Regions from separate parts of the Homo sapiens genome. Here region 2 is linked to region 1. The links are contacts of gene promoters, found by promoter capture Hi-C in blood cells and fetal thymus (Javierre and others, 2016). All regions are on one chromosome and are shown on one strand. The core of a region is centred on a gene start or on the middle of the fragment in contact, and the rest is flanking DNA. Distances in the headings are between cores, read along the strand shown. Region 1 holds the start of IL13RA1 (interleukin 13 receptor subunit alpha 1). Region 2 overlaps DOCK11 (dedicator of cytokinesis 11).

Evidence for each region. The method cuts DNA at HindIII sites, captures the fragments that hold promoters and counts their contacts. A CHiCAGO score of 5 or more calls a contact.
Region 2: a fragment that was not itself captured here is called in contact with the fragment with the promoter of IL13RA1 in region 1 in 2 of 17 cell types (monocytes and neutrophils); the score reaches 8.5 in monocytes.

The regions. Positions count from the first base shown.
Region 1 is chrX:118,725,717-118,730,637 of GRCh38, forward strand. IL13RA1 (interleukin 13 receptor subunit alpha 1) reads left to right here and starts at 1,890. Exons shown (of 11, transcript NM_001560.3): 1 at 1,890-2,010. The coding sequence starts at 1,923. RefSeq lists a silencer at 1,499-1,928. The HindIII fragment of the contact is 2,975 bases long and covers 279-3,253 here.
Region 2 is chrX:118,609,731-118,614,651 of GRCh38, forward strand. DOCK11 (dedicator of cytokinesis 11) reads left to right here. Exons shown (of 53, transcript NM_144658.4): 28 at 542-688. Among named protein-coding and RNA genes, the nearest start is that of IL13RA1, 120 kb to the right of the region's middle. The HindIII fragment of the contact is 4,338 bases long and covers 1-4,259 here.

The sequences.
Region 1 (4,921 bases), core at 640-3,139:
CTTGATACTTTACAAACTGTTTTCATAAACATTATTTTGTTCGATAACACATGCAAGCCAGGATTTATTTTTTTTTTTTTTGAGAACGGGGTCTCACTCTGTTACAGACCCAGGCTGGTTTTGAACTCCTGGGCTCAGGTGATCCTTCCACCTCAGCCTCCAGAATAGCTGGGATTACAGGTGCATGCCACCATGCCTGGATTCTGGAATTTATTCTGAACCGTTAGCCAAAAGAATCAACATCCTGAGATTCAGCACAGGCAGGCCCTCCTCCTGGAAGCTTCCCTTGCTCCTTCCCTCCCAAAAGGTACCCTTTTTGTATCCCATAATTCCTTGTTCTTGCCCTTATCATTGCCCCTCAGACTGACTGCAGCTTTCTGTTAGCAGAGCTTGCTTTTGGTGAGTGTCTTCAACAGTTCCTGGAACAATTTCATAAATATTTATTGAGTTTGAGAGCCTTAATTCCAAGAGTGGAACCTTTGTTGTGAATAGGTTAAACAACCCTGTGCCCTTTGGGTGGGGTCTAGACTAGGTATATTATCAGCATTTTTATTGCTATACTTTTTGTAACTGTTTTCAGGTATATGCATTGGCTTAATTCGGCCAAAATACACCTCATTATGGGTCTCATCATCCACCTAGACATGATTCTTTTTTGGGAGAAGGTGATAGAATAATGTCCCCCTCCCATGATTCCATATCGTGATCCCCAACACCTGTGAATATGTTAACTTACATAGCAAAAATGACTTTTCAGTTATGATTAAATCAAGGATTTTGAGATGGGGAGATTATTATGAATTATCTGGTGGACCTAATCTAATCACAAGGGTATTTATAAGGGAAAAGGGGAAGTAAGAGGGTCAGAGTCAGATACGACAAGGGAAGCAGAGGTCTGAGTAGTTCCGCAACAAGCCAAGGAATGTGGGTAGCCTCTAGAAGCTGGAAAAGTCAAAGACACAGATTCTCCCCTAGAATATCCAGAAGGAATACATCTCTGCCCACACCTTGATTTAAGCTCAGTGTCACTTCTGACCTCCAGAACTGTAATAAAATAAAACTGTTAAATCACTAAATTTGTGGTCATTTTTGACAGCAGCAACAGGAAACGCCTAAGGACTCTTGTTTTCCTTCCTCCCAGCCTCACTGACCCTCATAGGCGCCCAAGTATCAATGTGTATTCTTCCGATTCACCTCCCATCCCTTTGAAAAATATGTAGAAAGTTTGTCGTGTGCTTTAAAAAATGCACGTATGGTATCCTCCCTCATGTTTGGAATGTTCCTTTTAAAATCAACATTATGTATTGCCAGCTTTCAAATATGCCCTTTGTCCTTTTCACAAAGCACAGTACTGCCAGTGTCCCCAACTCCACCCAGTGAAGTAGGGCTGGTATTACTAACCCTGGAGTCAGCGCTAGCAAACAAGGGCTCAGAGGTCAAGGGCTGGAAGCCAGGTCTCCAGACTCCCAGGCCAAGGCTCTTTTCCGCAGATGACTCTGTCCTGGTGTCCAGCAGGGCACAGCCCCTAGCACCTCCGAGGCCCCGCAAGTGTGCTGGCAGCGGCGACGCCGGCTCCGCCACGCGGAGGGAGGAGGCCCAGGCAGCGCCCGGAGTGGGCGGCGACGTGGTGGAAGAAGTTTTGTTCGGTCAGAGACCGGACGCGGGAGCTGCGGGTGGGCCAGGTGTCCAGCCTTGGGAGCCGTAGGAGCCGCCAGAGCCGCCAGAGCCGCCGGCGCCCCGCCCCGCCTCCTCCGGCCGCTCTCGCCGGCTCAGGTTACCTGAGGCCGGTGGGCGGGGCGGCCCTTCCCGTCTGCGCCGGCCCCCAGCCTCCAGGGCGGCGGAGCCGGGAAGTGGAAGAGGGAGCGAAGGAGGCGGGGACTGCCAAGGCTCCAGCCCGGCCGGGCTCCGAGGCGAGAGGCTGCATGGAGTGGCCGGCGCGGCTCTGCGGGCTGTGGGCGCTGCTGCTCTGCGCCGGCGGCGGGGGCGGGGGCGGGGGCGCCGCGCCTACGGGTGAGTGCGACCCTCGGGGCCCGAGGGGCGGCCGGAGGGCTGAGGGCGGTGAGGGTCACGGCTGAAAGGCCCCGGAGGTCAACGCCGGGCGGAGGGCCGAAGCTGGGGTGGGTGCTGGGGGCTGCCCTCGCGAGGCCCCGCGCTCGGCGGCTGCGGCTTCCCGCGCGGGATCTCTGGGGCCCGGTACTGGGGCCGGTTCGAGGTGGGACCCGGGAGCTGCGGGGTTTTCCCGAACTCCGGGTGCGGCGGAGGTGGCGGCAGCGAAGTAAGAGGGCTGCGACTTGTAGTGGGAAGAGCCCAGGAGGCTGGCGTCCAGGCGTGCGGGGGCGGGGGGCCCGAAACATGCCCACGGCGTCAGAGGGCCGTGGGTCAGCGCCCGGAATGTCGCCTGTGAGCCCGGGAGGAAATGAGGCGCCAGAGCCGGCGGGGACCACGACCGAAGTCCAGGCGAGCTGAGAACGCGCCGGGGCTCTTTGCCCGAGGCCGCGCCAATCCTCACTGTCTAAGGGTGGCTCTTGCGAGTGGAAGTTGAAGGGAACCTCTAAACATCTCAGTCCTTGTTGAAAAAGGACGTGACGCTCATGACCTCCTCTGGCGTCGAAGAAATCCTTTGGGAAATCCAGAATAGCATCCCGGCAGATGCTCCCCCCACCCCACTCTCTTTAATAAACCTTATATTTTAGGGTAATTGTAGATTTATGGAAAAGTTGCAAAGATACTTCAGAGAGTTGTGTATATCCCTCACCCTGTTTGGTAACTTCTAGTTAATCAACCTGGCAGTTGTGAAAAATTGGGAGTTAATGACTTCCTTAGGAGCAGCTCCTGGAAGGAATGGCCTTCTGGACGTTTTTGGTGACAATGAAAGCCCCAAACTGTATAGGTTTTATTATCACATTGACACAAACACTTATATATGCTTATTGCATTTTTACCAATGTGCTTTGAAATCCAAGTTGAAATGTTGATTAGGAAACCTTAATGCCCTCTATGGATTCAGTCAATAAAATACATGCTGCCAGGCAGTGTTTAGGGGCTGAGGATGCAGCAGTGAGCAAAACAGATGAGGTGCCTGCCCTCAGACATATCGGGGGGTGGGGGTAAAATATATGATATGTCTGAGGGTGTTAAGTAGAGAAAAACAGAGCAGGTGGGAAGGGGTTTGCCATTGTAAAAAGGGTGGATCGAGAAGAAAACAAATGTTGCTGAAAGGTGGCATTTGAGTAGAGACCTGAGGGAGACTTGAAGCTTGTCAGTCAATAATTATTCAGGTGTCTGCCTTATTTAGTACTGAGTCAGGCCCTCTAGGTTGACTTAGAACCTGAGAGTGTATAGCAAAATTCTTGCCCCAAAAGGGCCTCTAGTTTAGTTGGGTACACCTGATTTCCGTAATCATATGGGGACATTGCAGTCCAGAGAAGGGAAGGAACTTGTCTAAAGTTACCCGTCTCATTAGTCTCCTGATTTTCACAGTGCCACTCCAGCACCCTCCCTCCTACAGACTCACTCCCACACACACCTGAAACAACAGCTGGCCATCTAGAGAATACTGGCAACTCCCAACTTCATCAGTCCTGTCACAATGGTTTGTCGTTAGCTTGCTTATTTAGAAAACAAACTTCTTTCCCCATTAAAAGTATTGATAGAATTGCATTGAGGTATGGTGGGAAAAAATTAGATGTTTCCAGTGAGACTTGAGTTTTAGTGGTTCTGATATTTACCACCTGTGGGACTCTGGGCTGGTCATTTCCTCTCTTTTGTGCTGCAGTTAGTTTTCTCATCTGTGAAATGAGGAGGTTGAACTGCATAAATTCTAAGAGCTCCTCCAGCTCTAATCCTCAGAGTGTTTATAAAAGTGATTAGATTACTAGCTTAGTTTAACCTGTCCCACTCAATGGCCCACATTGTGGCATGTCTTAATTATAACTAGCATGTATATAGCATTTATGCCCAGCAGTTTTCTAGCTGCTTTACTTGTACTATTTCATTTAATCTTTACCAATAATATAACTTGTAGGTGCTGTTATTAGTCCCATTTTGTACACGAAAAAGTTGAGGCACAGTGCGACCAAGACCCTTGCCCAAATTCGCATACCTGGCAAAGTGGAAGAGCTAGGTTTCCAACCCTGGCAGCCTGATTCCAGAGGCCATGCCCTTAACCACTGTACTCATTGCTTCTGCCCAGCAGAAAAGACGAGAGTCCTTAGCTGGACACCTCCCAGGGTAGCAGGGCAGGACGGCTTGGGACCCACGAAAGTATGTGCAAGCCATTTGTTAAGAAGCTAATGATACTATATTAGGCCGGGTGCAGTGGCTCATGCCTGTAATCCCAGCACTTTAGGAGACTGAGGCAGATGGATCACTTGAGGCCAGGAGTTTGAGCCTGGCCAACATGGCAAAACCCCGTCTACTAAAAATACAAAAATTAGCCGAGTGTGGGATTACATGCCTGTAATCCCAGCTACTCAGGAAGCTGAGGCATGAGACTCATTTGATCCTGGGAGGCAGAGGTTGCAGTGAGGGAAGATCAGGCCACTGCACTTCAGCCTGGGCGACAGAGCAAGACTGTCTCAAAACAAAAAAAGAAGCGAATGATACTACATTGGAGACTGGCTTTATAGTGGCTGGGCTGTGTGGTCCAAACAACTAGTACTATAGGCATTCAAAAGAGAAAAAGCTGACGGTTGGTAGTGTTATGGAAGAGGTAAAACTTGAGCTAGATCTTCTGGATGACTGGGATTTGAGTAGGTGGAGAATTTATTCCAGGTGGGGGCAATAGCAGGAGCAGAGACCCAGAAATGAGGGCAAGAGTGCTCCTTTGTGGTCAAGAAGGAACCTGGCTTGGCAGGAGAGTGCATTGGTAAAGTCAATCCAGGCAGAATAGCTTGATTTGCCCTTGAAAGCTCTGAGTCCG
Region 2 (4,921 bases), core at 841-3,340, 120 kb before region 1:
GCACGTGGAGTGTTACAAACACTTTATGCACTAGATATGATCCCGGAATGTGATGTATACATTTTGTTGTAATTTTTAATTGTTTGAAAGGTATAAAAATATTTTCTTATTCATAGGAATCATAAAGCTAAGACTTGTGAAGTACAAAATATTTACCTTATACTTAATTATTTTTTATCAGAATTTTCACAGAATATGTTTACTGAAATTGAAGTGCATGCATACTTTGTGTGCCAGGAAAAAAGTAGAATGAAAACTGCGTTGTGTCTGTAACTCAGAAGCATGATATTCCAAAGTTGGGGCAGAACAACCCATTCTTGCTGATAACCTCAGTCAGGTAGATTATTAGAGATCCAGATAGTTCCTGTAATTATATAGAGTGAAGTACATCTTGAACTAGTGATGTCATTTTTAAGTTGGGAGAACAATTATACATCAGTTTTAAGATATATTTATTTGTAGAATGTGTTTGAAAGTAAAAATGGCAATTGATTTAGACCTTTTGGAAGTCTGACTTTTTTCTGTGCCTATTTCATTTCAGCTTCCCCGAGGCCAGAGATTTCCCGAGACATATCATCATGTCTTACATTCACTGCTTCTTGCAATAATTCCCCATGTGACTATTCGGTATGCGGAGATTCCCGATGAGTCCAGAAATGTGAACTATAGTTTGGCTAGCTTCCTGAAGGTGAGTTCAAGGCAGCTAGAATGTGGTAAGGAACTCCTCTTCATTGATAGGAAGCCCAAGAAAAAAATTAAGCACTTTCTAGAGGCTCAGCTAGGTCTTCATAAGACTGTTGGAAAACTTAGGTTGCTTACAAACGTTGGCTATTGTGAACAGTGCTGCAACAAACATGGGAGTGTAGATATCTCTTTGATGCACTGATTTTCTTCCTTTTGGGTATACATCTAAGAGTAGAATGTTGGATCGTATGGTAGCTCTATTTTCAGTTATTTGAGAAACCTCCATAGAAGACATTGGCATTGGCTTGTGTTCTATATGGCGATTCAAAAATGTGAGAGGCTGGCCAGGCACAGTAGCTCACACCTGTAATCCCAGCACTTTGGGAGGCCGAGGTGGGCGGATCACATGAGGTCAGGAGTTCGAGACCAACCTGGCCAACATGGTGAAACCCCGTCTCTACCAAAAATACAAAAATCAGCTGGGTGTGGTGGCAGGCACCTGTAATCCCAGCTACTTGGGAGGCTGAGGCAGGAGAATCCCTTGAACCTGGGAGGTGGAGGTTTCAGTGAGCCGAAATCACACCACTGCACTCCAGCCTGGGCAATAGAGTAAGACTCCATCTCAAAACAAAACAAGAAAAGATGTGAGAAGCTACCTTAGTAGTCAAATTTAACTATATATACAAGATAAAGGTGATAACAATAATACCAGAAATACAAACAAATCTGTTCTTGATAGTGATTGTACTAATTTACATTCTCACCAATAGGGAAGGAAGGTTCCCTTTTCTCCACATCCTCACCAACACTTGTTATTGCCTCTTTTGGATAAAAGCTGTATATTTTAGCTTACCTGATCACAACAAATTTGTCCCCATCCCCCAATGAAATGACAAATAATTAAATCAGAGGACACATACAGGTGGCCTAGTCAGAAGACAAGTGTTGCTTGTTGTACACAGTGTTTTTAAGCATAGTTTGAATGCTTATTTAAATGGGAGCACATACTTTCTAGGTTGCCACCATCCCTACCACTCCTTATTACAGCCCTGAGCCTCCTCATTCATTTAAATCGTTTCTCTGACCCCGTTGGCTTTTGACTTTGCAACTTTTGGACTAAAGCAACCTGTTTGGTGATGTAACCACAGTGTACATGTTGCTAATACGTGTAAATGTAAATTGTTAGTGTTGATCAGTGAGGTTATTTTATTTGGGATATACCAGAAGAAAACTATATTTATGAAAGATGGCAAACTACCATCATTAGGTTTTGTTATTGTCAGTATGTAAGTGGCAGTGAGAGAATGTAACTGTTTTTTCTTTCTTTTTTCTTGCTTTCTTTCATTTTTTTTTAATTTGAGACAGAGTCTCGCTCTGTCACCCAGGCTGGAGTGCACTGGTGCGATCTCAGCTCACTGCAACCTCCGCCTCTTGGGTTCAACTGATTCTCATGTCTCAGCCTCCCAAGTAGCTGGGATTACAGGCATGCATCACCATGCCCAGTATTTTTAGTAGAGACAGGGGTTTGCCATGTTGGCCTGGCTGGTCTTGAACTCCTGACTTCAAGTGATCTGCCCCTCTTGGCCTGAATGTAACTGTGATAAAGTGGGTAACAACAATATTTGATGTGTGGCAGAGACAAGCGTGGGTTGCAAATGCACCTAGTTTTTACTTGCCTCTTTCCATTCTCCCTCTCTTCATTTCTCAAAGCTCTTCATTACTCTCAAAACTCTTCATATTAAGAACCTTGTGGGCAGCAATTCATCCAAGGAGTTTTAGTTTCTAACATATCCTCATTGTTAATTAAAAATTCACAACTAGGTTTCACACATCTTGAGTATGATTTTCTGACATAAGACTTCTCTTTGCCAGAATTAAAATAAAGTTTTAACCCTATTACACTAGCCTTTTTTGTGTATTAAAAAAGCCAACATCCACATATCTTTTTAAAATAAACTACGAATTAGATTATCTGAAATGTAGAATATTAGCTTCTTCCATGGAGTTTAAAGTTGAAGTTTACTATGTAAAGGGAATAGAACATTTTTGGTTTAGTAGCAGTATTTACTTAATTCAAGTCAGCAAACATTGGCTTGACTTCTGTGTGGCAATTCAAAGATGTGAGAGGCCGTGTTAGTAGTCAAATTTGAATATATATACAAGATAAAGGTGATAACAGTAATACCAGAAATACAGACAAAATACTATAGAAAAACTAGAAAGGGAGAGAGAGATTATGACCAGGCAGCATGAAACAAGTAACATAGTGCAGAGTTCCCCAAGACAAGAGTTGAGCATGTTGCAGTTAGAGGGTCCCTGAACAAAGATGAAATATGCATGTTCAAAAATTGTTCAGGGACGAGTGAAAAGTCGTGTGATGAGTTTAGGATGTATGGAGAAAGAGCTGGAAAGGCCATCTGGTGCCAATAATGAAAGGCCTTGAATGTCAGGTTAAGGAATTTGGACTTTGATTCATATGCAATGGAGTAACACCAAATACTTGGGAGGATACTTTTCTTGCTGGTATGATAGATGAAGTGAGGAAGAGACTCGAGTCAGGGCAACCGATTAGAAAACCAATCATCCGCGTGGCACAATCCACTTATCTTTTAGGCTCAGCTCTTCCCTGGCCTTTCCATGCAGTGTTGATCACCCCTTCTGTTGTTCACCTGTCTTTTACATAGCTCTGTGGCACTGTTATTGTGCACTATCTTTTCATTATTTGTTTGTCTTCACTATTAGACATGATTATGGACCATGCCTTATTCCACTTTGTATTTCTCTAGAATGTAGTACATTGTCTCAAACATAGTAGATCCTCTAAATGTTTGTTGGATGCTGGAATAAATAAATATGAGCCTCACTCAGTAATCCAGATGAGAGGTGATGAGGGTCTTACCCTGGGCAGTGGCAGCAGAAGTATAAAGGAGAGTATGAGATGCAAGATGCAGGTAGCTGGTTAATCAAATATTGAATTCTTCGGATTTCACAGAAATATTCTAGGCACTATGAAGGATATAAAGGAAAAGATCATTCTTATTGTCCAATCTAGGTGAGACGACAGGAAAACAGTCAGTAAAATACAAGCTAATACTGAAATAAAGTGTTTAAAAGGATCCATGGACCAATGTAGTTAAGGAAGATGGGATTTCATGAGAACCTTAAAGAATGAATAAGACCAGATAGAAGTAGCGAAAGAATTGCTAGGTGTGGCATAAGCCAAAGACTTAGAGGTGGGAATACACAGTGCATCTCGAGGGGATAATAAGTGAATGATGGCTGAGCATGCTGGTGCCCGCCTTAGTCTCAGCTACTTGGGAGACAGGCAGGAGGATTGTTTAAGGCTGTAGTGCGCTATGACTGTGCTACCACACTCCAGCCTGAGTGACAGAGCAAGACTCTGCCTGTCTCTCTCTCTCTCTCTTTTTTTCTGTTTTGAGACAGAGTCAAAGAAAGTCAATGAGATCTATTGGCAAATGAAGCTGGACAAGTAAGTTGGGAAAAGACTATGAGTGTTCTTGAATGGCAAGCTAAGGAATTTGAAATTGTATTAGAGACAATAGGGAACTATTGGAAGCTTTGGGGCAGGAAAATGACACCATTGGGCTAGGACTTAGAGGTTAATCTGGAAGCAGATGGATAGAGACATGAGAGACATGAAGACTGAGGAGGTTAACTGCAGTTTTTCAGTTGCAAGGTAGTGAGAGCCTTAACTAGGACAATGACAGTGGGCAAATATAAATAACTTGGGGCTGTCACAGAGAAGGGAGGTTTTATGCTTTGACTTCACTGAACACAAAAACTCTTTTGGTCTGAATTATTAATATTTACATAGGCAAGCCTCACTTTCATCAGCTAACAGACTACCTTACACTTCCCTTTGGAAGTGGGAGTTGACCAAAATGAGGTCAACTCGCTTGGGCTTTGAGAGTTGACCAAAATGAGGAAGTGTAGCTGAATAGATTACAGATATGTATGTGTGTCTGTGTATGTATGTGTGTGTATGTATAGATAAATGTATATTTGTGTGTGTGGCTATATATACATCTTGTTCTGAAAACTGTATAATTGAGGCCCTTCAGTCCCAATTCCAGTGATGCCACTTGCCCTTTATCTTTTTCTTTAAGGTCACCTGAAGCTCAGAAAGTTATCTATAAAAATAAAAATGTCTTTCTTTTTGTGTGGAACCAATTTTGAATTTTTAAAACTTTACATTTTTAAAATTTAGACTTTTAGA